Linked DNA regions of Homo sapiens: all the other regions are linked to region 1. Evidence: promoter capture Hi-C in human tissues and cell types (Jung and others, 2019). All regions are on one chromosome and are shown on one strand. The core of a region is centred on a gene start or on the middle of the fragment in contact, and the rest is flanking DNA. Distances in the headings are between cores, read along the strand shown.

Region 1 (7,659 bases), core at 682-3,181:
TTTTAAATGTAATGCGTAGACCAATGTCTAGATCCAAACTAAAACAAACTATAAAAACAAACAAACAAACAAAATGCCTGTTTGAGACAATCAGACTGAAGGTTAGATGACAAAGAATTGCTAATTTTGTTGGATGTGATAATAATATTGTTACATTTTAAAATCCTCATCTGTTAGAGGAAAATGTTGAGGAACTCCCAGATGAAATGTTATGATGTTTGGATTTTGCTTTAAAATACTCCCACAAAACAAGGGAAGGGAGGTGATAGATGAAACAAGATTAGCATAGAGCTGATGATTGCTGAAGTCGGGTGATGAGTACATAGAATTCATGGCAATGTTCTCTCTACATTTATTGGTATTTGAAAATTTCCATACTAAGAAGCTAAAAGAACAGAACGAAAACAAAAACAGACACACACACATATGTAAGCAAGATACCAAGGCTGCCAGTTTGAAGCCACTGAAGAAAACAAGAAATTTACCCTGAGAATGCATAATTAATAAGAGCTCAGAGTAACTGACAATTTTCAGGTAAATTTCCTTTCTTCTTATTAATAAATATTCACTGGTGCTAGATCAGAAGCCAATAATTAAGTAAAAGTCAAAAGGAAAATAGAATTCCATCAACTACGTTCTAATTATAAAGAAAAATCCCTTCAGGGATGGTATCTGACTCAGTGAAGCGTGCCTGTGATTTTGGTGGACGAGAACTAGAACTGAACGGTGCTTCAAAACGTATTTTTCTTTCAAAGGTCTCAAAAGCTGTATGACAAATCCGTGAAGAAACAGCATATAAGGTACCTCGACTCCGGCGGCAGCTAAAACCCATCTCACGGACTCCATCCGGCCTCTTCCGTTGGGATAGTGGAGCTTGGGCCTTGCTGCCATGATAGCTTTTCAGGCTTTCTGAAATACAAATGCAGCAGCTCGTCGCAGACCAACAGTCCCAATTTCGCGTCTTCAACCCAGTGCTCAGGGGCGAAATGAATATTCAGGATTTTGGCACGGGAAACTGTTCTTTATTTTTGTTGCTGCATTTTCCCTCACTCAAGAAAAAAAAACCACCATTTTAAAACATGGAGAAAAAAACCTTGGCTTTTATATGATTTCTATTTATGACTTCTTATCCTGGATCTTGGGAAGCTGGGGCCATTTGTTGTAAAAACATATGTGCTAGCAGTACGGGATTTCACAAATTCAGAATATTATATATTTTGACCTCGAGAATCTCAGATTTTCCAAATTCAGCTGGGGGATAGGGGGTGGCAGGCGTTGAAGAGGGTAGCGAAGGAAAATCGCACAGCCACTGGAAGCTCTTCAAGTATTCATGCTTTTACATACATCATCATATTTTATTATCACGGCAACTGGAAGGTGAACAGGCCGAGTACTACTACTGTCTGCAAAATGTGCGTCCACCGTCACGCATGCGGTGGCTGCGCCCCCCGGGTCCCGCGTGTCCACCACCCCTACAGGGAGATGAGCCCCCGGCCTTGTAAAACGAGCCGGGGGCCAGGGCTTGGCCATCTGAGATCGCACTCTCCCATGCTCGTCTTCCCCGCTCAGCCCATGCAGGGGCGTAGCGGCAGCCCAGCCAGGCCCGGGGACGATCCGAGCCCACCTTCCACCAATGCATTCAGACTCCGCAGAAGGGGTTTAAAAAAAAATACGCACACTGAGCCAAGAAGGACCCCAGCTCCAGCCAAGGGGCCCACCTCTGCCCAGACTGGATGGAGCAGGAGGACAAAGGACAAGAGGAAGAAAAGACAAGAGAAGGACTGAACTGGGGGAGTGAGGGAAGAATGCGAGAGTGAGACTCAGAGAGTAAAGGGGAGGGAAAAAAAAGAAGAGAGAAAGGGCGAGGAAGGGGGCGACCGCAGGAGGGAGACAGACCTGGAGTCCACTCGGAGGCCTGGAGCCGCACAAAGCGCCAGGTCAGCGGTCCCGGCTGGGTGAGACCAGCAGGCGGCTCTAGCGCGCGGGAGCTGGGCGAGGCTCCGGGACGACCTCACCAATGGAGACTGCAGTATTTAGCATGCCCCACCCATCTGCAAGGCATTCTGGATAGTGTCAAAACAGCCGGAAATCAAGTCCGTTTATCTCAAACTTTAGCATTTTGGGAATAAATGATATTTGCTATGCTGGTTAAATTAGATTTTAGTTAAATTTCCTGCTGAAGCTCTAGTACGATAAGCAACTTGACCTAAGTGTAAAGTTGAGACTTCCTTCAGGTTTATATAGCTTGTGCGCCGCTTGGGTACCTCGGATGTGAGGGCGATCTGGCTGCGACATCTGTCACCCCATTGATCGCCAGGGTTGATTCGGCTGATCTGGCTGGCTAGGCGGGTGTCCCCTTCCTCCCTCACCGCTCCATGTGCGTCCCTCCCGAAGCTGCGCGCTCGGTCGAAGAGGACGACCATCCCCGATAGAGGAGGACCGGTCTTCGGTCAAGGGTATACGAGTAGCTGCGCTCCCCTGCTAGAACCTCCAAACAAGCTCTCAAGGTCCATTTGTAGGAGAACGTAGGGTAGTCAAGCTTCCAAGACTCCAGACACATCCAAATGAGGCGCTGCATGTGGCAGTCTGCCTTTCTTTTGACCCATTACCCATCTAAGTTAGATGCTTTTTTAAATGTTTTTTAATTTTTAAATTTTTAATTTTTTTCATTATTTATTTTTTATTTTTGAGACGGATCTCGGCTCACTGTAACCTCCACCTCCCGGGTTCAAGCGATTCTCCTGACTCAGCCTCCCGAGTAGCTGGGATTACAGGCGCGCGCCACCATGCCCGGCTAATTTTTCTATTTTTAGTAAAGACGGGGTTTCGCCATGTTGACCAGGGTGGTCTTGAACTCCTGACGTCAGGTGATCCTCCTGCCTCGTGCTGGGATTGCAGGCGTGAGCCACCGCTCCCGGCCCTTAGATGCTTTTTAATCAGCAAGTACGCAATGCTTTCCTGACAGGAATGTCAAGTCCGTCAGGAAATCCACATAAGGGTGTTAAGCAGGCAAAGTACCACATACAGATTAAAATCAAAAGCACTGTCAACGCTTATTTAATTTATACAGTAGACCCTAACTTTTCTAATTTTGTGTATACATATATATACATGTATACATGTATACAAACATACATATTTTCTTCTTTCTTTCTTCATCTCAGTGGGACATCTTGAGATTTCTCTTCATTTTGTACATTTTAGAGACAAGTGCTCTATAGTCACGGTCTCAAGTCAGCACCTGTTTGGAAGGGGGTCTTTGGAGTTGGGGGTGGTGCTAAAAGAATAATTTGGCTGGCAAGTTAGTTAAAACATTAAAAATATATTAAAACTATCAGGGCTATATTATGGAACAATTGCAAAATTCACATGGATTTCAAAGTTTGAAATATATGCCTTCGAAAATAAATTTTGTTTTTAGAGGCAGCTTCTGCTATTTCTCAGGCTATAGATGTTGTTATTTTCTTCACCCACGGGGGCGCTCGAGAGTACCTTGCTTGACAAGCCTGGGTGCTGAACAATTGCAGCCGCTAACATGATCAGATTTTATTTTCAATAGGTTTCTCTGGCCAAAGTGAGGCGAATGAATTGGGGTAGTAGGGGTAGAGAAAGAAACCTCTTGTGTCTGTGTAAATTAAAGTAGCACCATGAGTTTGAAGAATATGAGTAAGAAAAGGTGAAATACTAAGGAGGTAGGTGGTAAAGCAATTGCTAATCAGATCAAAGGGAAGGGAGGAGGAAGAAAAGTCTAGAATGATGCCCTGTCCAACACACACACACACACACACACACACACACACACACACACACACACACACACACACTTCTTGTCTTTTTTTTAATAACATGTATTGTCATCTAACAGGACTTTTTTATTTATTTGTCTGTAGATTCCTAGAATGTAAATTCCACGAGATCGAGGATTTTTGCGCTTTTGGTTTTCCTTTTGTACATCCTGGTTAGTATAGAGTAGGTATTCAGAGAACACTTGTTGAATGAATGAATGAGCAATGCTTTGGTTTCTAGTTCCATAAAGAGCGGAGAAGGAAGACAAAGTTTGGGGAAAATGGGTTGACTTGTCTTTTGTTGCTATGAACCATCCAGCTGGAAATACCCACTAGACAGTTGAAAAAGCCATTGAGGGCTGGGCGCAGTGGCTCACGCCTGTAATCCCAGCACTTTGAGAGGCTGAGGCGGGCGGATCACCTGAGGTCAGGAGTTCAAGACCAGCGTGGCCAACATGGTGAAACCCTGTTTCCACTAAAAATACAAAATTAGTCGGGCGTGGTGGCCTGTTCCTGTAGTCCCAGCTATTCAGGAGGCTGAGGCGGGAGAATCGCTTGAACCTGGAAGGCGGAGGTTGCAGTGAGCCGTGATCACGCCCCTGCAGTACAAGCTGGGCGAGAAAGTAAGACTCCCTATAAAAAAAAAACCGAAAAGACAAAAACCAACCCAGTGAGGACTCAGTAGAGAGAACTGAAATCGGTTGAATTGGTGGCAAAAGAATGAGCTCATCCAGAGAAGGTATGCAGGGTAAGAAGAGAGGTAAGTCAAGGACCACTGGGCACCCCAAAAGTCAGAAAAGTCGTTTTCAAAAAAGACTTAACAGTGTATATCCAATCATATTTCTAGTTCTGATTTAACAGCAATTACTCAGTTTAACATGAGTAGGAAGCCATATTTTCCAGCCTTGCTGAAAGTGGTCATTCTTTTTTTCTTGCTTTTAGTTTATAATTAAGGAAGGTTTATTGAACATCTGTGCTGAGGTCTACTGGATTTACTGAGACATAAAAAATAAATTATAAAATCCAGTTCTTGCCCTCAAGGAGCTTATTTTTTAATTGACAAATAAAATTGTATATTTTTACTGTGTACAACATGATATTTTAAAGTACAGTCATCCCTCAGTATCTGTGGGGGATTGGTTTCAGAACCCCCTCAGCTACCAAAATCAGACCATGCTCCAGTCCCTTATATAAAACGGTGTAGTATTTGCATGTAACTTAACACACATCCTTTGGTTTACTTTAAATCATCTCTAGATTTTTTATGTTAACCTAAATAACAAACAGAAAGAGGCTCTTTAAAAATATTTATTTGGAAATTGAATTTTGCAATAGGAATATGCATGCCATAGTAAATTATGTGTGTATTCAGGGAGGTAAAATAAAACAAAGATTTTTAAAGGACAAAAATGACGATGGCATAATTGTTTTAAAATAAGTATCCTTTGCTGCAAAGATGAATAACAAGGGCAATAATCCCAGTATTTTTTTGTGTAAGACTGCAATGGCCATTGTGGAAGGTTGTGGTTCTTATAGTCTTTTGTGATCGTGTGTTGTTGTTGTTGTTGTTGTTGTTGTTGTTTGTTTGTCTTTTGGAGACAGGGTCTTGCTGTATTGCCCAGGCTGGAATGCAATGGTGCGATCAGGGCTCACTACAGCTTCGAGGCTCAAGTGATCCTCCCACCTCAGCCTCCTGAGTAGCTGAGACTACAGGCGCATGACACTACTGGCTAATTTTTAGTTTTTGTAGAGAAGGGGTCTAACTATGCTGCCCAGGCTGGTCTCAAACTCCTAGGCTCAAGTGATCCTCCCACCTCTGCCTCTTAAAGTGCTGTGATTACAGGCATGTACCTCTGCACCTGGCTTTTGTGATTGCTTTTATTAGACATTTAAGCCAAGCACTTGTCTCCATTTGCTTAGTTCCAACTGGTTGAATTATACCAAATTGCTAATATCTTACTGTTTTTAACCTTCAAAAATGGCAGTTTCAGATGTCCAATCTTATAAAATAGAGGCAACATCATCCTAGAGTTAGGGAAACAGGAGTGTAGGAGAGCCAGGGTGACAGCATTTTAAAATCAACTCCATCTTACAATGAGAACACATAGACACAGGGAGGGGAACAACACACACCAGGGCCAGTCGGGGGGTGGGGGAGTGAGGGGAGGGGGAGCATTAGGACAAATATCTAATACATACCGGGCTTAAAACCTAGATGATGGGTTAATAGGTGCAGCAAACCACCATGGCACACTACACCATGGCACAACTACACGTTGTGCGCTTGTATTCTGGAACTTAAACTAGATTAAAAAACAAAAAAATCAGCTCCATCTTAAGATGTCTACAGCTGAGGAAATAGCTTAATAATACCTGGAAGGACAAATTCCTATGACAGTAGAATGTCCAGATGTTCCAATATTGCATAATGCTAAACACCTTTAAGGTAATTATAGTCATGCTTTCACGTATTTACGCATGAAAATGCCAAGGATACCTTTCTTTAAATTAACAAAGTACTAATTTTTTTCATTCTGTTAGCCCACTCGCACGTAGACATTGCTTAGCTTACCTTTTACAGAGATAAGACCCCTATCGAATAAAAACAAAGAAGAGGCATTCCTCCTCTTGCTTTCTGAGAATGCTCTACTCTGTAACTGAGTAGCTTTCAATAAAATGTTACTTCTCATGGCACTGGGTGACTCGCCTTACATTCCTTCCTGTGCGAGATCCAAGAACCCTCTTTTAGGATCTGGATCAGGACACCTTTTTTGGGTAACACTCAGCCTTGTTCACCTGAAAGTGTAACTAAGGTAGCAGCATGACTGCTATTACACAGGCTTGGGGAGAAATGAAAACTCCTGTTATAATAGTTCTGGCACTCTATGACAGGTACCCCAAAGGCATTTTATTCCTTTGAAGCCCCTGACATCATCAACCTACTTGTTCTTGAAGACCCTTAGAGTTGCCCTCATCCTGAGACAGTCTTACTCATTTTATCTATCTATTCTACCTACCTACCTACCCACCTACCTACCTGATACATTTTCAGAGGCCCTGAGAAGTCTTCTTAGCCTCAACCCTTCACTCATCTGCTCAGTAGTAGGTAAAATTGCTTGCACAGAAGTCAAGAGCTTCAAATCTCAGTTTAAGAGCTTTGTATACTCCCAGAAGAGGGAAACATTTGACTTAAATTCAGCCTTAGCTATAAGCGATTGGTGTAAGACCCTATTCTAACAAGTGGGTTTTCTTATCAGGAAAGATGGTTGAGAGCTTGAAATGGCTTCTTCAGGGTTTCTGAAGGGGCAACATGGGCCCAACGTGATGCCAAAAAGACAAATGCCCATGACTACACAGTAAAGTCACTGTTCTGATGGCGAGAGGCACACTTAGGGATTCACCAATGCAAGTTTGATTGGTAGATCATGTTCCTAGAAAATCCTGTCAAGGAGTCAAAGAATGTTTAGAAAATGAATTTCCTGTGACATTCTTTATGTAGTTCATGAAGTTATGAACTTCTTTTGAAGGTTTATATTGTATATGAGAATGTGCTGTGAAAAGCTAAAAGACATACAAGGCAGGTTAAAATGATGAAATCAGGAACAAGAAACTGTTTCCACCTGCTTTTGCTTTTTTTTTTTTTTTTTTTTTTTTTTTGAGACAGGGCCTCACTCTGTTGCCCAGGCTGGGGTGGAGGGGGGTGATCTGGGCTCACTATAACCTCTGTCTCCTGGGCTCAAGTGATTCCCCTGCCTCAGCCCCCCAAGTAACTGGGACCACAGGTGCACACCACCACATCCGGCTAAATTTTGTAATTTTGGTAGAGACAGGTCTTGCCATGTTGCCCAGGCTGGTCTCGAACTCCTAGGTTCCA
Region 2 (7,731 bases), core at 1,816-4,315, 180 kb after region 1:
TCTGCCTCTAGACTGCCTTTGGAATGAAGCTGCAGCAGCCGCTCTTCCCTGGGTCTCCAGCCTGCCAGGCTGCCCTGCAGATTTTGGACTTGCCAGCCTGCACAATCATGTGAGCCAATTCTTCAAACTGAATTCCCCTCTCTCTCCACCGCCCCCACACACCCTCACACTGCTCCCCCTTCCCACAACACATACTCCCTTAGTTCTGTTTCCCTGTAGAACTCTGACCAGTACAGAAGTACATATAGGAAAAAAATGGAAAGCAAAGCTTTGTGAATATAGAAAATATTATTGCTGGGCATTGTGGCTCATGCCTGTAATCTTAGCACTGTGGGAGGGTACGGCTGGTGGATTGCTTGACCCCAGGAGTTTGAGACCTGTGCAACATAGTGACACCCCTGTCTCTACAAAAAATACAAAACTTGGCTAGGTGCAGTGGCTCATGCCTGTAATCCCAGCACTTTCGGAGGCCAAGGCGGGTGGATCACCTGAGATGAGGAGTTCGAGACCATCATGGACAACATGGTAAAACTCCATCTCTACTAAAAATACAAAAATTAGCTGGGCATGGTGGTGCATGCCTATAATCCCAGCACTTCGGGAGGCCGAGGCGGGTGGATCACCTGAGGTCAGTTCAAGACCAGTCTGGCCAACATGGCAAAACCCTGTCTCTACTAAAAAATACAAAAGTTAGCCGGGTGTGGTGGTGGATGCCTATAATCCCAGCTACTTGGGAGGCTGAGGCAGGAAGAATTGCTTGAACCCACAAGGCGGAGGTTGCAGTGAGCTGAGATTGCACCACTGCACTCCAGCCTAGGCAACAGAGTGAGACTCCATTAAAAAAAACAAAAACAAAAACAGAAAAAAATACAAAACAGTGTAGGGCATGGTGATGCATGCCTGTAGTCCCAGCTACTTGGGAGACTGGGGTGGGAGGATCACCTGAGCCTAGGATGTTGTGCCTGGGCAACAGAGTAAGACTCTTATCTCACAAAAAAAAAAAAAAAAAAAAAAAAAAAAAAAAGAGAGAGAGAGAGAAAGAAGAAAAGAAAGGAAGGAGGGAAGGAAGATCATTGCTCAATGTGTGTCAGAGAGTCACAAAATTAAATTAATTATGGATACATTGAAAAGCAGGTAAATGAAAAAATGAGGCAATTATTAATTCCAGGAAAAACAAAGAATCATATCTTAGCAATGAACAATATTTGTCAAAGTAGTGTAAATGCCAACCACTAACTAACGAAAATATTTATGTAATTACCTTGGGAGGGGCAAATGAATCAGTAAAGTCTAAAACTAACAAATTGAGAAACACAACATGAGCATATTATTCAGAAACACGGAGATAAATGCTTAGGGAAATTCCTAAAAGAGATAAGGATAATTTTCTGTGGGTGTAGGGCTATGAGATAAGAAAAGGCAGTTAGCTGGCCAGGCGTGGTGGCTTATGCCTGTAATCCCAGCACTTTGGGAGGCCGAGGCAGGAGGATCACCTGAGGTCAGGAGTTCGAGACCAGCCTAGTCAACATGGTGAAACCTCATCTCTACTAAAAATACAAAAAATAGCTGGGTGTGGTGGTGCATGCCTGTAATCCCAGCTACTCGGGAGGCTGAGGCAAGAGAATCACTTGAGCCTGGGAGGCAGAGATTGCAGTGAGCCAAGATCACGCCATTGTACTCCAGCCTGGGCAAGAAGAGTGAAACTCCATCTCAAAAAAAAAAAAAAAAAGAAAAAGAAAAAAAAAGAAAAGGCAGTTAGCTATCTGCAGTTTTTCATGACAAGCCTTTTTCACTACTCGAATTTACATGCAGGTATTGCTTTGATAAAAAAAAAAAAATAACTGAAAAATATTTGCCCACTTGTAGCTCTGTCTCTTTTGGGCTGTAGTGTCAGGTAACTAATTTGATATATTAGCAAAGTAAAGCCTGATATATTGTCTAGCCCTATCAGATAATTTACTTAATTTTTCTTTTCTTTTTCTTTTTTCTTTTTGAAACGGAGTCTCGCTCTGTCGCCCAGGCTGGAGTGCAAAGGTACGATCTCGGCACACTGCAACCTCTGCCTCCCGAGTTCAAGTGATTCTCCTGCCTCAGCCTCCTGAGTAGCTGGGATTACAGGGGCCTCCTACTACGCCTGGCTAAGTTTTGTATTTTTGGTAGAGACAGGGTTTTACCATGTTAGTCAGGCTGGTCTCGAACTCCTGACCTCAGGTGATCCGCCCACCTCCGCTTCCTAAAGTGCTGGGATTACAGGCGTGAGCCACTGCGCCCGGCCAATTTACTTGATTTTTCAAGGGCTCCAATACTTCTATGCTAAAACGACTAATAGTAAAAATTTTAATCAACACAGGAAATTAGTGTGAAGAGTGGGGAATATTTGAGGTTTCCGAAACCAAATCACTGGGCAATGCATACATTATCCAGAGCCTAGAGCATCATGGATTCTCAATTAACATCTAATGGGATGTGTGACAGAAGAGCACAAAACTCATTACCCTGAGTGTGGTACCCTATCTACGGGATAGGATATTGGGGGCAGTGTGGACCCTTGCATCTAAAATATTTCCTGCATTTGTATTCCACAGATGCTTGAAATTCAATGATAATTTCATTTCATTGGTCCTCAAGGGTTTTTTGATATTTAGAGTTGTCTGCTAAGATGGGAAATTTCTCAGGAAAGGAACACCCCTTAGAAGGGGGTAATTTGCTTGTTACTGAGAATAAGAAGTGAACCAGGTATGGCAGCTGTGCCCATAATCCAAGTCACTTGGGAAACTGAAGCGGGAGGATAGCTTGAGCTCAAGAGTTTAAGTCCAGCCTAGGCAACATGGCAAGGCCCCCGTCTCTAAAAAAATAAAATAAAATAAGAGAAAAGAAATTTCTATTAAAAACTTATTTTAAAAATAAGTAAAATAGAATAAGAATGGAAAAGTGAAGGGTAGGCAAGGGCAGAGGTAATGGCCACACAGGACTAGCCTTCGGCTTGGTCATCTTTTCTACCAGTCACCAATCCAGGGCACCGAGAAAGTCCAGCAGCGCCTGAGCCTGCTGCACTTGCAGTAGCAGGGACTGGCCGGGAGATGGCAGCCCTGTCCCAGGTCGGGTGGTGCCTCAGCCGCAGTTCCTGTCACGGCCATCGGGAGGCAGTGCAGGAACACTCACTGATGTGTAGCAACTCAGCCTAAAAAGCAGTTTTTATTATAATACATTGCTGCTGTGATAAGCACTCAGCAAATATTTGTTTGAGTGAGTTGACTCTATGTCAGTCATTAAGATCACTCTCTTGAATGCACCCTCAACACCTTTGCAGGTACCACAATCCTGGGTCATCACTTTAAACCCATGTCCGTGAATGTTACCCTGTATCCCCGCCGTCCGTTCATTCTCACACTGTTTCACACTTGCAACTCACTCAGCTAAGCTCCGACACCTCACTCTGCTCATGGCCTTGCTTTCCAGTTCACTGAGAAAACGAAGCAGATAGACGGAACTTCACAGCGCCCTACCACGACCACAGGTCGGCCTTCCTGCCAGCGAAGGTAGGTGAACTGTCCTGGCTCCTAAGGGCAACCCTTCCCGTGCCCTAGGTAAAATCCCTTCTCACTTCCACGGAAACATGACTCCAGAAAATTTTCACGACCTTTTCCCCCACGTCATCAATTTTCCTTTCTCTACTAGCTTATTCCTATTAGCACAGAAACCTGCTGTTATCTATCCCATCATTATTTATCATTCCTCTTGGGCCCCAATTTTCTATCAGCTATGACCCTATTTCTGTTCTTTTTTCCAGTAATTCCTGGGGTTTTCCATACTTACTGATATTCACCAACTCCAAAGCCTTCCCTGCTATTCTCGGCTACACCCACTGTAATCAGCTTTTGCTCAGACCGTTCCAAAGGAACTTCTCTTGACCTCTGCATCACTTACATCCATTAGTCAACCCTGTCCTCATCTTCACTTTATCTATAAACAGCACTTGATTGCTAGCTCCTCACTTCACCGATCCTCAGGGCACCATCAACTGGCTTCTCCTCCCCTCTTAGTTCTTTGTGGAGTCTGCCTTTTCTCCCCAATCTATCCTTACCAAGTTGTCTAAGGCATGGTCCTTGCACTTATTTATACCTCTGGCTCAGACAGAAGTCTGAGCTCCATACTCAGCTCAGACAGAAGTCTGAGCCCCATACTCAGCTCAGACAGAAGTCTGAGCCCCTGAGCTCCATACTCTGATACCTAACTGTTCAACTTCTCTGCATGACCATTTAATCGGCCCCCATACTGTTATCCTCATATTCCCCTGCTCTGCCCACAGTCTTCCTGTCTCAGTTAATGGCTACCCATCCTTCCAGGCTCTCAGGCCAAAATCACTGCAGGCATCAGTGACCACTTTATTTCTCTCACACTCCATATCAGCTCCCTCAGGAAATCCTGCTGGCTGTACCTTTAAAATATATTGGGATTCAAGCCGGGTGTGGTGGCTCATGCCTGTAATCCCAGCACTTTGGGAGGCTGAAACAGGTGGATCACTTGAGGTCAGGAGTTTGAGACCTGCCTGACCAATATGGTGAATCCCCGTCTCTGCTAAAAATACAAAAATTAGGCTGGGCATGGTGGCTCATGCCTGTAATCCCAGCATTTGGGGAGTGTGAGGTGGGTGGATCACCTGAGGTCAGGAGTTTGAGACCAGCTCGACCAATATGATGAAACCCCGTCTCTACTAAAACTATAAAAATTAGCCAGGTGTGGTGGCATGCACTTGTAGTCTCAGCTACTCAGGAGGCCGAGACAGGAGAATTGCTTGAACCCAGGATGCAGAGGTTGCAGTGAGCTGAGATCACGCTTCTGCACTCCAGCCTGGGTGACAGAGCGAGATTCCATCTCAAAAAAAAAAAAAAAAAAAAAGAAAAGAAAAGAAAAAAAATACATATATATGGATTCTTACCATGTCTCACCACCTCCACCCACTACCACTCTGAGGTAAGCCATCAATATGTCTCCCCTGGATTACTCAATAGCCTCCTAGGTGGTCTTCCTACATCTCCTCCAATTTGTTGTCAATTGAGCACCCAGAGTGACCTCTTTTAAAAAGGCCAGACCATGTCACTCCTTTGCTCAAAACTATCTATGGGCTCCCCACATTAGTCAGAATAAAAGCCAAAATCCTTGAAAGACATGCAAGATTCTAGACCAACAAAGTCCAATCAAAACAGGGCATTTTACATTTCCCAGGAGTCACCATGGAAAAGTAAAAATAAACAGATGAAATGAATTGTAATAATATATTCATTTAACCCAATATCACTAAAACATTATTTTGACATGGAATCAAAATTAAAATTGAGAAAAATTACAACTAATTCTCATTCAAAGTCTTTGAAACATGATGTATTATTTAATCATGCAGCCAGGCTAGGCGCAGTGGCTCACACCTGTAATCTTAGCACTTTGGGAGGCGGAGGCGGGTGGATCACCTGAGGTCAGGAGTTCGATACCAGCCTGGCCAACATGGTGAAACCCCATCTCTATTAAAAATACAAAAATTAGCTGGGTGTGGTGACATGTGCCTGTAGTCCCAGCTACTTGGGAGGCCAAGGCAGGAGAACTGCTTCAACCTGGGAGGTGGAGGTTGCAATGAGCCGAGATCATGCCACTACTGCACTCCAGCCTGGGTGACAGAGAGAGACTCCATCTCAAAAAAAAAAAAAACAAAAAGCCATGCAGCCCATGTCAATTTGGACTAGCCACATTTCAAGTGCTGAGAGCCATCTGTGGCCAGAGATGACCATATCGGGCTATACAGCCAGAGACCACATTTCTCAGATCATCTGTCTGATCATGCCTTCAGCTACCCTCTGCCTGGCTCACTCTGCTCCAGCCAGGGGGCATGCCTGACACTCTGCACTGCCTGTTCCCTCTGTCTCCACTGCTCTTTCCCCCAATATCCATAGAGCTGCCTTCTTCACATCTTGTCATCTTTGCTCACATGGTCAACCTGTTTAAAGGATAGCCACCACACGTCCCCTTCTGACACTCCTAATTCCTCTTACACACCCTATTTCTCCCTCTAGCATTTAGTACCTTCTAAAAGACTGTATATTCATGATGTGATCTCTGTTTTCTCACACTAGAAGATAAGCTCTGCAAGGGAAGGTGTCTATTTTGTTTGGCAGTATGGGCCCGACACTTACAACAGTGCCTGGTACATAGTTGGGCACTCAATAAACACTTCTTGACTGAACAAAGTAATGAGAGACTAAATCAATCTTCCCAGAGGGTTTTCAGGTCAGGGCTCAGAGCCAGTGTCTCACATAGCACAATAGCAGCAGTGACCTTGGTGTGATTGAAATGGGAGCTATTTTGTTTGTTAGTAATCACTGCAAGAAAGGGCAAAGCTAGATTCAATGCAGCAAGCATTTTCTGAGTGTCCACTGTGTGCAAGGCTGTAACTTTCGTACATGTCTGCAGGAGCCATCACTAGGACATAGCCTCACCTTCGGGCTGGTACTAGGTTTCCTCTGTGCAGCTCCGGAGAGCAGCCCCAGTGTCAAAAGCATGAAATTGATAGAAATTGATTTCAATTTTTTTGGAAAGAAGAACTTTTGAGTAACCAGCTCCATTCAAAATGAATTGGACTGTCTTAAGAGGTGCAACTATTGTCCCAAATCTAGAAATAAATATTACTTAGAAGATATGGGCACTGAGAGGGAGGTTAAATTAAACCTCATAAGCCAACTCTAACTTTAATATTCTAAGATATTAGCCTACATTTTGATATAGTAGAAATAGTATGGGTTTTAGTATCAGGCAGTCTGGGTTTGAAATCCTCTTCCATCCATCACTTAGCCTGCTTCTGGTTAGCCTTTTCTTTTTCTTTTTTTCTTTTTTTAGACAGTCTTGCTCTGTCACCAGGCTGGAGTGCAGTGGCATGATCTCGGCTCACTGCAACTTCCACCTCCCGGGTTCAAGCGATTCTTGTGCCTCAGCCTCCCGAGAAGCTGGGACTACAGGCACATGCCACCACGCTCGGCTAATTTTAGTATTTTTAGTAGAGACAGGGTTTCACCATGTTGGCCAGGATGGTCTCGATCTCCTGACCTCATCATCCTCCCGCCTTGGCCTCACAAAGTGCTGGGATTACAGGCATGAGCCACCGCGCCCGGCCCTGGTTAGCCTTTTGCATATGTTACATTTTTTTAGAATGGTGCCTATCCCCAAGGATTTTTTTCTAATATCAGATGAGATAATGTATATAAAACTGGCTTCCATATGAGTTGACATATAATAGAAAATAAATAATAAACTTTACTTGGAAAATTTTCTCCTAGGTTCCAAGATTTCCAAAATTTTTCAAGGTTTTCCTTTAAAAAAATAAAATTCTGATTTCCAATGGCAGGGCCTGGGGAATGGGTGATAGGTGCCATGTCCGGCCTCGAAGGCGGGAAGAAGAAGCCCCTGAAACAACCAAAGAAGCAAGCCAAGGAGATGGACGAGGAACAAGAGGCCTCCAAACGGGAAAAAAAAGGAGAAGCAGAAGAAACCCAGGAGCTAAAAGTGAAGGCCAAGGCTGTAGGGAAGGGCCCTCTCCCTGAACATGGGTGAAATCTGGCAATCTCCATCTCTTTTCCTATCAGTAACAAGAACAATCACTACTCATAAGTGTTAGGTGCTGTGTCATTTAATCTTTGCAAAAGGCCAAGAGATGTTGGCCCAAATTAGTCTCATTCACATGAGGAA
Region 3 (7,697 bases), core at 2,508-5,007, 130 kb before region 1:
AGTGAAATGTCTATGGAACCCACTCTTTCCGTATGAAAAAAATGGTATGGAAATTACTAAATTTGTGAAATGAAAAAGAAATTATGGCCTGGTAAGATTTCACTTGAAACAACTTTTTGTTTTGTTTTGTTTTGTTTTTGAGACAGAGTTGCACTTTGTCACCCAGGCTGGAGTTCAGTGGCGTGATTTCGGCTCACTGTAACCTCTGCCTCCTGGGTTGAAGCAATTCTTGTACCTCAACCTCCTGAGTAGCTGGGATTACAGGTGTGCACCAACATGCCTGGCTAATTTTTATATTTTTAGTAGAGATGGGGTCTCACCATGTTGCCCTAACTGGTCTCATACTCCCGATCTCAAATGATCCACCCACCTCAGCCTCCCAAAGTGCTGGGATTAGGCGTAAGCGACTGCACCTGGCCCAAACAAGATTTTTAAAAAGCTTCCCGTAGTTCTTCTTTTTCTTAAGAAGCTTCCTTTTACTTTTTATCGATTTATTTCATTCATGTTTTTATTTCCCCTCCAGATACATAGTAGGACTCTTGTATTTTTGTGTTGATTTATCTTCATGGATATTTTAGGAAGAGGTTGGGACAAGTTACAATAGGACTGGCAACAAGATGCCATTTAAAATGGGAAGTTCCCAAAGTAAGTCTCATGGTGTTTGTGACATTTAAGGCAATTTCTGAGAGGTTTTTATGTAAGGGTCCCTTTCTCTGCTCTTCAAAGCCTACAATGTTTGTGCAGTGCTGCAGTGTTACCTTGTCATGCCCCCGCATGAAAGAAAAAACTCAAGACTGTGGCCACATCGATTTCTCCTCCTTTAGTCTAATGCATGTTCTTGCGTGTCCTTGGATGGGGAGAGCTGTGTGGGATCCTGAGCTGATGACCACAGCTCATTCACGGAGCCCCAATCATGAAAACAAAGAAAGGGTTTTCTCAGGGCATGGGAGATGATTCCTCTAGCAAATAGTCTGAGAGGTCTGGTCCTTTTAGTCTGGAGAGAGTTGCCAGACTTGATCACGGAGCCACATCCCTTCCATTTTAACCACTTTCTCCCTCTGCACCATGTACAAATACCACGCCCCACACACATAGGCATTGCCGGCTGGTCAAACCTCCCCGTGTACCTTCTACTCGATACTATCATCAGAGGCACTTAGAGATTGATCTTACCTTTTTTTTTTTTTTTTTTGAGACTGAGTCTTGCTCTGTCACCCAGGCTGGAGTGCAGTGGTGCGATCTTGGCTCACTGCAACATCCGCCTCTAGGGCTCAAGCGATTCTACCGCCTCAGCCTACTGAGTAGCTGGGATTACAGGCACACACCATCATGCCTGGCTAATTTTTTTATTTTTAGTAGAGAAGGGTTTTCACCACATTGGTCAGGCTGGTCTCGAACTCCTGACCTCATGATCAGCCCGCCTTGGCTTCCCAAAGTGCTGGGATTACAGGCAGGAGCCACTTCACCTGGCCGATCTTACCATTTCTTAACTTTTCCAAATCTTCTGCAGATTCTAGAAATTTCTCTTCAAAATGCAAGCAGAAACAGTATATGAGTTCTTGTTAGTTTATTCTATTATAGACTTGTGATGTGGAATGGCCCCTATCTGGTGCATGGTTTGGAGAATATAAGATTTCTGAGTTTGGCAGGGTACACAGAGGGGGCTGGTCATGGCCATTTGTAAATTTAGACCTAATTTATTGAGAAAAGTGCGTGGGTCACAGCACATAGCTGCTCAATCTTCTAGTTCACTTCACCTCCAGCCTGATCTCATGAATGTCTATGATTAGGTCATATTTTGAGAGCAGACATCACTGGAGAAAAGGCACTGAGCAGTTCTTCTACTTATGGTGTTGTCATATCTTAGGAAAGCCTGTGTCTCCAGGTGAGATCAGACCACAACCTTGTGTGTCCCCAGTGTGGGGTATGCCATGGGCTAATGGCCATCAAATATTCTGCCACCAAGGAGTCTCTGCTATAATTTATATCACCCCACTTCTCAGAAACTCTGCTAAGGGTGAAATAGGTTGCAGCTGTTGCACAGCTTTCACACTTGCAACTGTAATTTTCTCTTCTGAAGTACATGGGACCAATAGGGTAAAATTCTCAATTTAATAAAGGAATTAGAGCCCCACGCTAACATTATTTTTCATGAAAACCTCTGGTTTCTGATGTGGTTTTGTGGGTTCATTATCACCATTTTCATGTACTGGCTTCTTGACTTTGGACATGTTACCGAAACTCTCTGTGTCTGAGTATGCTAATCTATGAAATGGGTAAACTTATGGAACTTATGGTATAGGTTGATATCAAGATTTAATTACAAGGTCACACAAAGCACTTAGAAAAGTAGCAAGTGATAGTAACTGCTCATTAAATATAAATTTTGGGGGGTGGAGCCAAGATGGCCAAATAGGAACAACTCCAGTCTAGAGCTCCCAGCGTGAGCGACGCAGAAGACAGGTGATTTCTGCATTTCCAACTGAGGTACCGGGTTCATCTCACTGGGGAGTGTCAGATACTGGGTGCAGGACAGTGGGTGCAGCACACCGAGTGTGAGCCAAAGCAGGGCGAGGCATTGCCTCACCTGGGAAGCACAAGGGGTCAGGTAATTCCCTTTCCTAGTCAAAGAAGGGGGTGACAGACGGCACCTGGAAAATCGGGTCACTCCCACCCTAATACTGTGCTTTTCCAACAGTCTTAGCAAACAGCACACCAGGAGATTATAACCCGGGCCTGCCTCAGAGGGTCCTACGCCCACAGAGCCTCTCGCTCATTGCTAGCACAGCAGTCTGAGATCAAACTGCAAGGCGGCAGCGAGGCTTGGGGAGGGGCGCCCACCATTGCCAAGGCTTGAGTAGGTAAACAAACTGGCCTGGAAGCTCAAACTGGGTGGAGCCTACCTCAGTTCAAGGAGGCCTGCCTGCCTCTATAGTCTCCACCTCTGGGGGCAGGTCATAACGGAACAAAAGGCAGCAGAAACCTCTGCAGACTTAAATGTCCCTGTCTGACAGCTTTGAAGAGAGTAGTGGTTCTCCCAGCATGTAGCTTGAGATCTGAGAACAGACAGACTGCCTCCTCAAGTGGGTCCCTTACCCCTGAGTAGCCTAACTGGGAGGCAGCCCACCATAGGGGCAGTCTGACACCTCACACGGCTGGGTACTACTCTGAGACAAAACTTCCAGAGGAACAATCAGACAGCAACATTTGCTGTTCACCAATATCCACTGTTCTGCAGCCTCCGCTGCTGATACTCAGGCAAACAGGGTCTGGAGTAGACCTCTAGCAAACTCCAACAGACCTGCAGCTGAGGGCCCTGACTGTTAGAAGGTAAACTAACAAACAGAAAGGACATCCACACCAAAACCCCATCTGTACGTCACCATCATCAAAGACCAAAGGTAGATAAAACCACAAAGATGGGGAAAAAACAGAGCAGAAAAACTGGAAACTCTAAAAATCAGAGCGCCTCTCCTCCTCCAAAGGGGCGCAGCTCTGCACCAGCAACAAAGCTGGACAGAAAACGACTTTGACGAGTTGAGAGAAGAAGGCTTCAGATGATCAAACTACTCTGAGCTAAAGGAGGAAGTTTGAACCCATGGCAAAGAAGTTAAACACCTTGAAAAAATATTAGACGAATGGCTAACTAGAATAACCATGCACAGAAGTCCTTAAAGGACCTGATGGAGCTGAAAACCACGGCACAAGAACTACATGACAAATGCACAAGCCTCAGTAGTCGATTTGATCAACTGGAAGAAAGGGTATCAGTGATGGAAGATGAAATGAATGAAATGAAGTGAGAAGAAAGTTTAGAGAAAAAAGAATAAAAAGAAATGAACAAAGCCTCCAAGAAATATGGGACTATGTGAAAAGACCAAATCTACATCTGATTGGTGTGCCTGAAAGTGACGGGGAGAATGGAACCAAGTTGGAAAACACTCTGCAGGATATTATCCAGGAGAACTTCCCCAATCTAGCAAGGCAGGCCAACATTCAGATTCAGGAAATACAGAGAACGCCACAAAGATACTCCTTGAGAAGAGCAACTCCAAGACACATAATTGTCAGATTCACCAAAGTTGAAATGAAGGAAAAAATATTAAGGGCAGCCAGAGAGAAAGGTTGGGTTATCCACAAAGGGAAGCCCATCAGACTAACAGCTGATCTCTCTGCAGAAACTCTACAAGCCAGAAGAGAGTGGGGGCCAATATTCAACATTTTTTTTTTTTTTTTTGAGACGGAGTCTCGCTCTGTCACCCAGGCTGGACTGCAGTGGTGGGATCTCGGCTCACTGCAAGCTCCTCCTCCTGGGTTCACGCCATTCTCCTGCCTCAGCCTCCCAAGTAGCTGGGACTACAGGCGCCCGCCACTACGCCCGGCTAATTTTTTGTATTTTTAGTAGAGATGGGGTTTCACCGTTTTAGCCGGGATGGTCTCTATCTCCTGACCTCGTGATCCGCCCCCCAAGGCCTCCCAAAGTGCTGGGATTACAGGCGTGAGCCACCGCGCCCGGCTAATATTCAACATTCTTAAAGAAAAGAACTTTCAACCCAGAATTTCATATCCAGCCACACTAAGCTTCATAAGTGAAGGAGAAATAAAATCCTTCACAGAAAAACATATGCTGAGAGATTTTGTCACCACCAGGCCTGCCCTACAAGAGCTCCTGAAGGAAGCACTAAACATGGAAAGGAACAACCGGTACCAGCCACTGCAAAATCATGCCAAATTATAAAGATCATCGAGGCTAGGAAGAAAATGCATCAACTAATGAGCAAAATAACCAGCTAACATAATGACAGGATCAAATTCACACATAATAATATTAACCTTAAATGTAAATGGGCTAAATGCTCCAATTAAAAGACACAGACTGGCAAACTGGATAGAGTCAAGACCCATCAGTGTGCTGTATTCAGGAAACCCATCTCATCTGCAGAGACACACATAGGCTCAAAATAAAGGAATGGAGGAAGATCTACCAAGCAAATAGAAAACAAAAAAGGCAGGAGTTGCAATCCTAGTCTCTGATAAAACAGATTTTAAACCAACAAAGATCAAAAGAGACAAAGAAGGCCATTACATAGTGGTAAAGGAATCAATTCAACAAGAAGAGCTAACTATCCTAAATATATATGCACCTAATTCAGGAGCACCCAGATTCATAAAGCAAGTCCTTAGAGACCTACAAAGAGACTTAGACTCCCATACAATAATAATGGGAGACTTTAACACCCCACTGTCAACATTAGACAGATCAGTGAGACAGAAAGTTAATGAGGATATCCAGGAATTGAACTCAGCTCTGCACCAAGCAGACCTAATAGACATTTACAGAACTCTCCACCCCAAATCAACAGAATATACATTCTTTTCAGCACCACACCACACTTATTCCAAAATTGACCACATAGTTGGAAGTAAAGCACTCCTCAGCAAATGTAAAAGAACAGAAATTATAACAAACTGTCTCTCAGACCACAGTGCAATCAAACTAGAACTCAGGATTAAGAAACTCACTCAAAACCGCTTAACTACATGGAAACTGAACAACCTGCTCCTGAATGACTACTGGGTACATAATGAAATGAAGGCAGAAATAAAGATGTTCTTTGAAACCAATGAGAACAAAGACACAACATACCAGAATCTCTGGGACACATTCAAAGCAGTGTGTAGAGGGAAATTTATAGCACTAAATGCCCACAAGAGAAAGCAGGAAAGATCTAAAATTGACACCCTATTATCACAATTAAAAGAACTAGAGAAGCAAGAGCAAACACATTCAAAAGCTAGCAGAAGGCAAGAAATAACTAAGATCAGAGCAGAACTGAAGGAAATAGAGACACAAAAATCCCTTCAAAAAATCAATGAATCCAGGAGCTGGTTTTTTGAAAAGATCAACAAAATTGATAGACTGCCACCAAGACTAATAAAGAAGAAAAGAGAGAAGAATCAAATAGATGCAATAAAAAATGATAAAGGGGATATCAACACCAATCCCACAGAAATACAAACTACCATCAGAGAATACTATAAACACCTCTATGTAAATAAACTAGAAAATCTAGAAGAAATGGATATATTCCTTGACACATACACTCTCCCAAGACTAAACCAGGAAGAAGTTGAATATCTGAATAGTCCAATAACAGGCTCTGAAATTGAGGCAATAATTAATAGCTTACCAACCAAAAAAAGTCCAAGACCAGATGAATTTACAGCCGAATTCTACCAGAGGTACAAGGAGGAGCTGGTACCATTCCTTCTGAAACTATTCCAATCAATAGAAAAAGAGGGAATCCTCCCTAACTCATTTTATGAGGCCAGCATCATCCTGATACCAAAGCCTGGCAGAGACACAACCAAAAAAGAGAATTTTAGACCAATATCCTTGATGAACATCAATGCAAAAATCCTCAATAAAATACTGGCAAACCAAATCCAACAGCACATCAAAAAACTTATCCACGATGATCAAGTGGGCTTCATCCCATGCAAGGCTGGTTCAACATATGCAAATCAATAAACGTAATCCAGCATATAAACAGAACCAATGACAAAAACCACATGATTTTCTCAATAGATGCAGAAAAGGCCTTTGACAAAATTCAACAACACTTCATGCTAAAAACTCTCAGTAAATTAGGTATTGATGGGACATATCTCAAAATAATAAGAGCTATCTATGACAAACCCACAGCCAATATCATACAGAATGGGCAAATACTGGAAGCATTCCCTTTGAAAACCTGCACAAGACAGGGATGCCCTCTCTCACCACTCCTATTCAACATAGTGTTGGAAGTTCTGGCCAGGACAATCAAGCAGGAGAAGGAAATAAAGGGCATTCAATTAGGAAAAGAGGAAGTCAAATTGTCCCTGTTTGCAGATGACATGATTGTATATCCAGAAAACCCCGTCGCCTCAGCCCAAAATCTCCTTAAGCTGATAAGGAACTTCAGCAGTCTCAGGATACAAAATCAATGTGCAAAAATCACAAGCATTCTTATACACCAATAACAGACAAACAGAGAGCCAAATCATGAGTGAATTCCCATTCACAATTGCTTCAAAGAGAATAAAAGACCTACGAATCCAACTTACAAGGGATATGAAGGACCTCTTCAAGGAGAACTACAAATCGCTACTCAATGAAATAAAAGAGGATACAAACAAATGGAAGAATATTCCATGCTCATGGTTAGGAAGAATCAATATCGTGAAAATGGCCATACTGCCCAAGGTAATTTATAGATTCAATGCCATCCCCATCAAGCTACCAATGACTTTCTTCACAGAATGGGAAAAAACTACCTTAAAGTTCATATGGAAGCAAAAAAGAGCCCACAATGCCAAGTCAATCCTAAGCCAAAAGAACAAAGCTGGAGGCATCACGCTACCTGACTTCAAACTATACTACAAGGCTACAGTAACCAAAATAGTATGGTACTGGTACCAAAACAGAGATATAGACCAATGGAACAGAACAGAGCCCTCAGAAATAATGCCGCATATCTACAATTATCTGATCTTTGACAAACCTGAAAAAAATAAGCAATGGGGAAAGGATTCCCTATTTAATAAATGGTGCTGGGAAAACTGGCTAGCCATATGTAGAAAGCTGAAACTGGATCCCTTCCTTACACCTTATACAAAAATCAATTCAAGATGGATTAAAGACTTAAACGTTA
Region 4 (7,121 bases), core at 4,376-6,875, 180 kb before region 1:
TGGTGGTTCTTACTGCTTTGACTATGTTATAATCTGCATGCCACTGTGTCCCAGGGTGAACTGCAAAGATGTCTGCAACTTACTTTGAAATGCACAATAATAATAATAATAATAATAATAATAATAATAATAATAATGTGTTTGAGTGAGGCAAACAGGGGTGGAGTGACTGACACGTGATAAATCAAAGATAAAAGGTTAACTTTGCTCTTTAGATCCTTGGTGTATATATGTTCATAAAACATTTCTTTGGACTACACCAGATCTATACATTTTTAATAATAAAGTTTTTGAGTGATATATGATATTTATTAAAATATCTCAGCACATTGACATCATAAATAATAAAAAGAGAAAACATATGGCAACACTGATTTAAGATAATAGTTTGACAATACATTTTCAGACTATGTATACATACAAACGTATGGATAATGACTTGGTACACAAACAAAACAACTTCAATGCTATATTGTAATATACATTGTTCAAATGCACATATCACAGGCTATTTGGTAGAACTCGTAGAATTCTTATTCACAGTCTATTTTTATACCATGCCTTGGGAGTCAGGTGCTCCATTAACATCAAGGAAAGCTTCTTGGAAGTGAAGGTCAATGCCCCAAAAATACACAGGTACTATTTTATTTTTCTGTTGCCTTGTGTTATGGACTGAATGTTTATGTTTCCCAAAAATTCATATGTTGAGATCCTGACCCCCAAATCTTTAGAAGAGATCCCTAAAAAATATATTCTTTCAAGCCATTAGTAGGTGGGGGTTTCAGGAGATGATCAAGTCATGGGGGTGGAGCTTTCATGAATGACATTAGTCCCCTTATAAAAGGGTTCTCAGAGAACTCCCTTGGCATGTTTGCCATGTGAGGACATAGCCAGAGATTGGCTGTCTATGATCCAAGGAACAGGTGCTCCCTAGATGTGAAATCTGCTGGCACATTGATCTTGTACTTCCCAGCCTGCAGAGCTGTGAGATAGAAACATCTGTTCTTTAAGCTACCCAGTCTATGGTATTTTGTTATTGCAGCCAAACTGCTAAGAAACCCTCTAAACTCTTAGTGCCCTTATAGACTAAACAGCTTCTATCATGACCCTTACAACAGTCAAATACACCAGCATTGGCCAATAACTGCCAGCTTCCCTAATTTTTGCCTCTATTTTCAATTTATGACCAACCACAGAAAGCAAAATATGGATCTCTGACTAATCCCATAGAAATCCACACTTCTAGTTAGCCAGCTTACAGCATCCCTAGGCCAGCAATCAGGACATAACTTTTTCTACCATGAATCTCTCAGACTTTCCTGCCTACCTCTGAATCTCTGATAAATGCAAAAGATGGCGGCTGACTTCCTTTCTATAGCAAGCTCTGTATAAACACCTTTTGCTTATTCTCATTTGGACTGTCTTCACTTCCACAGTTTTTCTGGAAGTTGCAACAAGACATGGTCTATGTTGCCCGTTGCCATGGACCCCATCCGTCAACCAGGTGCTGTATCCACAAAGGCTCCTTGTGCCTTGTGGCAAGTCAGCACCTGGGCTGAACTCTTTTCTCTTTGCATTGAACTCTTTCACTTTTTATTCTCAGGTTGGTCCTTGGTTTTGGTATTGGTTCTCATCTGCTTAGCATCCTTTGTAGAATCAGGACTTTCTTTTCATTTCTTTTGTAGTCTTTCGTGTTACTTTTTTTTGTCGTGCGATCTAAAGGTGTTATTTGTCATAAAAGAAGCAGCATAAGAGCAGAGGCCCAGGAGCCTGTTTTTCAAGATAGCCTCACAGTACATTAAGTTTGAGGTTCTCACTGGACCTCTTTCCATTTGTCACACTTTGCTGTGGGTCACCCCTAAAACCGAATGAAGTTCTTCTCTCTTGATTTTTGGTTCTTGTTGTTCTGCAAACTTGGCAGTGCCAGACAGAAACATCACAGTTTCCACTTGAGGCAGAGTATTGACTGTGACTTTAGATTTACTTTATCCTTGTTAGGTGGTAATCCATATATCTGACTGAATAATTCTCTATTGTAGTTTTGAGGCTTAAATCATGTAGCCACTAAAAAGCTGAAGAAATGCCTAGGGCGAGATCTGGGGAAGGGGCATGGACCTTCCATGCCTTCCCTGGACAGGCCACCCTCCAAGAAGCTCCACGTGTTCAGCTATCCAGAAGCTCCCAGGTACAGTTTCAAAGACAGGAAAATAATGGCTTGTTGTTCCCTCTGATCAGGGCAAGCTTTGCATCTTTTTCCTCAGGTGGATGCAATGAGCAATGAAGAAGCTTTTCACTCAAACCTGCCCTACCTTCTGTATACATTTCGACCCCGTAAGACAAAAATAACCAAACTGCTGAGTGCCTTCTGCCTTAGATTTTATGTTTAAACACTTGAGACCGTGAAGCATTAGGTGACAGGAAAGTAATTCAGCTCCACTGCGTGCCTTTTATATGCTAGTCATTAGGCTATGATTTTTATAAATATATTTACATTTATTTCTCAGAACACTCTACTGTGATAGATTTATATCTAAAATGTTTGTTATACACATGACCAAATACAGGTACAAGAAACATCGGTGACCTGTCCAGCGTCACAGTCATGAGAGAAATTAGTGGAATCACTGCAAGTAACCACTGATGCTACAAATAGGGTTTGCTCACTCTGCTGTGGTTTGTTTTACACATAAGCCCTGCCATTTACATAATCCCAAGACAGCCTCCCCAGCACAGTGATCTCGAACGTGTCTGTTTTCCTCTCTCATCATACTACAAATCCCAGGCTCACTTTTATGCCCAATATTAGAAGTTCTTAAAAAAGAAAAAAATAAAATTAATAAAGGAAAAACTAGGAAATAAGGTATGTCTTTAAAAGATACCCCTAAAAAATATATTTTTTCAAGCAAGCTACTAATTTTCAAAAAACAAAAAAAAAAGAAGCTCTCTCAATTATTTTCCATAAAACATTGTTCCATTACCTTTTCCATATGATGTTGTCCAATTCTAGTCATGATTGTGTTTCAAGACCTCACCTAATATTCCCATGGTAATGTGGGAAAATTGTTTACATAGTAAAATTGGTAAACATGGTAAAATTATTCATATAGTTAAAACCAGTGCATAGCATAGGACATCTTCTTTCTTCTCATTTCAAACTGTGTTTCCTACAAAACTTTTATTTATTTATTTATTTTGTTTATTTGTTTGTTTGTTTTTTTTGAGACAGAGCCTCGCTCTGTCACCAGGCTGGAGTGCAGTGGGGGCAATCTCAGCTCACTGCAACCTCTGCTTCCTGGGTTCAGGTGATTCTCCTGCCTCAGCCTCCTGAGTAGCTGGGACCTTAGGTGCACGCCACCACCCCCGGCTAATTTTTGTACTTTTAGTAGGGACTGGGTTTCACCATGATGGCCAGGAGGGTCTTGATCTCTTGAACTCGTGATCCACCCACCTCAGCCTCCCAAAGTGCTGGGATTACAGGCATGAGCCACTGTGCCTGGCCCTGTATTTTATTTTTCTTTGAGACAGAGTCTTGCTCTGTCACCCAGGCTGCAGTGCAGTGGTACAATCCTGGCTCACTGCAACCTCCGCCTCCTGTATTCAAACGATTCTCCTGCCTCAGCCTCCCGAGTAACTGGGATTACAGACACCTGCCACTACGCCTGGCTGATTTTTGTATTTTGAGTAGAGATGGGGTTTTGCCATGTTGGCCAGGCTGATCTTGAACTCCCGACCTCAGGTGATCTGCCTGCCTCGGCCTCCCAAAGTGCTGGGATTACAGGCGTGAGCCACCATACCTGGCGAATACTTTTAAATAACAGCTTTATTGACATGTATTCACATACTATAATTGCCACCCCTTAACAGAATATTATTCAGTAATTTTTAGTACATTTACAGAATTCTGCAAATACTGTCACTGTCTAATTCCAGAACATTTTTATCACCTGGGAAAGCAGTAGCACATGCTTTGGCAGCCATTCCCCATTGTCCCCTTTCTCCAGCCCCTGTCAACAACTGATTTCCTTTCTGGACTCAAATGGTCTGGATGGTTCATACAAAAGAATTCATGTTACATGTGGCCTTTGGTGTCTGGTTTCTTTTATGGAACATGTTTTCAAGGCTCACCCATGTTGTAGCATGCATCAGTACTTCATCCCTTTTCATAGCCCAAGAATATTCCATTGTCTGCTACAGCACAACTTGTTCCTCCATTCATCCATGGGTGGACATTTGGGTTGTTTCCACCTTTTGCATAGCATGAATAATTCTCCTATGAACATTTCTGTGCATGGATTAGTGAGGATGTGTTTTCCTTTCTCCTGGATGTAGACCTGGTAGTGGAATTGCTAGGTCATTGGTAACTCTATATTGGACTTCTCAAGGAACTGCCAGCAAAGGAGGAGACCCCTCCTCCCAGCTTTGCTGATGCAAAATCAGTCTGGCTGCTTAGGTCTGTATCAAATGCTGCACTTTAGGTAATCCTGGTATCTTGGGCACCAGCCTCTCAAACCTTAGTCAAGTGGACCAGTTCATACAACTGGCTGGAAACTTAGGTTCCTGGTCACCATTCTTGGAATTACTGGAACCTGAGATTCAGCTCCTTTGCAGCATTCTCTCCCCAGGCCTTCATCTACCGACTCTCAAACATTCTATGCCTTGTCCTAAGCTGTTGGCTGGAGTCCAGCCTCTGAAGTCCCGAGCACCTGGAATCATGATTCCCCATCCTCCTGAGTTCATGGTTCATCAGCGTTTGGAAACCTTTGTCAGGGTGCTGGATCCATAGGCTGCATTGTCTTCTAGAATCACACTTGCCTGAACCCTCCCCATATTCACTCTTTTCTCATCTCCATGGGACTCTGCAATACTGGACACCAGCGTATATGCCCAAGGCCCAGCCTGCTGCTAGTCGTGATGCTCCTTCCACGGTCCTGCCCACTCACAGAAGGACCGAAATCACTCTGTGTTCTCTGTTGATGGAAGAACAAAAAATATACTATATGGGGCTCTCTCCTTTATGTCTTTCCCACACAGGTTGTATTTGCTGGCAATGTAGTTGAGAATGGCTCTGGTCTGCATCAGCTTCATCCCGTCAATCTCAACCATTGGCACTTGCTGGAAGAACAAACTCCCATCTTTAGAAAATAGAAAAAAAAAAAAAGGCAGAGTGAAATTTCTATGAATCCCACCCTTTCAGGATGAAAAAGTGGTTGTGGAAATGACTAAATGTATAAAATGAAAAAAAAATTGCCTGGCAACTGTTCAAATGAAATAGGAACTTATTTTTAGCTTCTGGAAGTGCTTTTTCTTATCAAGCGTTCTTTTACTTTTTATACTGTTACTTCATTTATGTTTTTATTTCCCATCCAGCTACAGAATAGGTCGCTTGTATTGTCTGTGTTGATTTATTTTCATGATATCTTAGGAAGAAGTTGGGAGAGACTGCAACAGGTCACCAGCCAGATGCCATTTAACATGGGAATTTCTCAAAGTAAGTCTCATGCTGTTGAAGACATTAAACACAGTTCTGAGAGAAGCTTCTATGTAGGCTCTTTGTGTGCCCTTCAATACCCCCATTAGACAGTGTGTGCAGGGCAGGCTCTGTGTTTCTTACCCCATGGCTTCTACCCTGGCTCATGTCCCTCCTCACCCTGTGACCTGGACTTCCAACCAAGTCAACACTGTCTCATTATCTAAGCAGACAATATTGCAAAGATATCACCTTGTCAAACTTATAATAGAAACAATTCAAAATGGACCTATTTCAACTCCTTTTGTCTAAAACATGTCCTTGCGTGTCTTTGGATGGGGTGGGCTATATGAGATCCTGAGTTGATGACCACAGCTCACTCATGGTGCCAAAAGCAGGAAAGCAAGAAAAGGGATCCTCAGAGTGCTGGAGATGGTTCTCCAGCAAATACAAAGAGAAGTCTGGCCCTTTTTAGCCTGGAAAGAGTTGCCAGACCTGCTCTAGGAGCCCATCCTTTCCATTTTATGATTTTCTCCCTCTCCACCATCACCAACTACAACCCTACACACATGTAAGCATTGCTGGCTGTTCAAACCTCCCTGTGTACCTTCTACTAGATACCCTCCTCAGAGGCACTTAGAGACTTGATCTTACTATTTCTTAACTTTTCCAAATCTTTTGCAGATTCCAGAAATTTCTCTTCAAACTGGAAGCAGAAACAGTAAATGGGCTCTTATTAATTCATTCCATAGCACTGTAGACCTTTAACCTTGAATGGCTTCTGGCTGGTACATAATTTGGAAAATATAAGATTTCTGAGCTTGGCAGAGCACACAGAGGAGGCTGGTGGTGGCCATTTTGAAATTTACACTAGATCATCGAGAAAAGGGCATGGATCACAGCACATAGTCGCTCAATCTTCTAGTTCACTTTACTTCCACCTTGATCGCTCCCATGTCCATGATTAGGTCATGATTTGAGAGGGGATGTCACTGCAGTTAAAGGATCATGCAGTTCTTCTAATTATGATGTTGTCATATCTTAGGAAAGCATATGTCTCTGAGTGAGATCAGACCACAACCTTTGTGACCCCAGCATGGGTATGCCATAGGCCAGTGGCCACCAAAGATTCTGCCACCAAGGGCCCTCTGCTATAATTTACATCAGCTTAGTTTGTAGGAGCCCTGCTAAAGTTGAAATAGGTCATAGCTGTTGCACAGTTATAACTCTTGCAATTATAATTTTCCCTCCTGGAGAATATGGGACACAATAGAATAGAATTCTCAATTTCAGGAAGGAATTAAAGTCCCCACAGTAACATTATTTTTAATGAAAATCTCTGGCTTGTGACATGGCTGTGTGGGTTTAATATCACTGTTGTCATGTCCTGGCTTCTTGACTTTGGACACATTGTTAAATCTCTCTGTGTCTCAGTATCCTAATCTATGAAATGGGAATACTTATGGTACCTATGTTATAGGTTGGTATGAAGATTAAATTTCAAAGTCATGCAAAGCACTCAGAAAAGTAGCAAGTGTGTAAGTGCTCATTAAACATACACTATTAGGATTCTGAAGTATGGCTGCTATTTCATATCATCCTTAAAAAAATTAAATCAATCTAATATTGATGAAAATATACTCTATTGCTGATC

The links. The method cuts DNA at HindIII sites, captures the fragments that hold promoters and counts their contacts. A contact is called where the count stands out against the background at its distance.
Region 2: a contact is called between a fragment that was not itself captured here and the fragment with the promoter of GSTA4 in region 1, in 1 of the 25 tissues and cell types used here (spleen).
Region 3: a fragment that was not itself captured here is called in contact with the fragment with the promoter of GSTA4 in region 1 in 1 of the 25 tissues and cell types used here (liver).
Region 4: a contact is called between a fragment that was not itself captured here and the fragment with the promoter of GSTA4 in region 1, in 1 of the 25 tissues and cell types used here (mesendoderm cells).

The regions. Positions count from the first base shown.
Region 1 is chr6:52,993,353-53,001,011 of GRCh38, forward strand. GSTA4 (glutathione S-transferase alpha 4) reads right to left here and starts at 1,932. Exons shown (of 7, transcript NM_001512.4): 1 at 1,897-1,932; 2 at 805-909. The coding sequence starts at 891. RN7SK (RNA component of 7SK nuclear ribonucleoprotein) reads left to right here and starts at 2,268; the gene lies at 2,268-2,599. RefSeq lists silencers at 1,853-2,084, 2,416-2,505 and an enhancer at 2,036-2,255. The HindIII fragment of the contact is 14,338 bases long and covers 1-5,770 here.
Region 2 is chr6:53,168,946-53,176,676 of GRCh38, forward strand. No RefSeq gene overlaps it. Among named protein-coding and RNA genes, the nearest start is that of GCM1, 24 kb to the left of the region's middle. The HindIII fragment of the contact is 8,076 bases long and covers 1-7,103 here.
Region 3 is chr6:52,858,438-52,866,134 of GRCh38, forward strand. It overlaps the pseudogene GSTA11P. Among named protein-coding and RNA genes, the nearest start is that of GSTA5, 21 kb to the left of the region's middle. The HindIII fragment of the contact is 6,606 bases long and covers 455-7,060 here.
Region 4 is chr6:52,807,288-52,814,408 of GRCh38, forward strand. It overlaps the pseudogene GSTA6P. Among named protein-coding and RNA genes, the nearest start is that of GSTA1, 7.0 kb to the left of the region's middle. The HindIII fragment of the contact is 8,412 bases long and covers 1,420-7,121 here.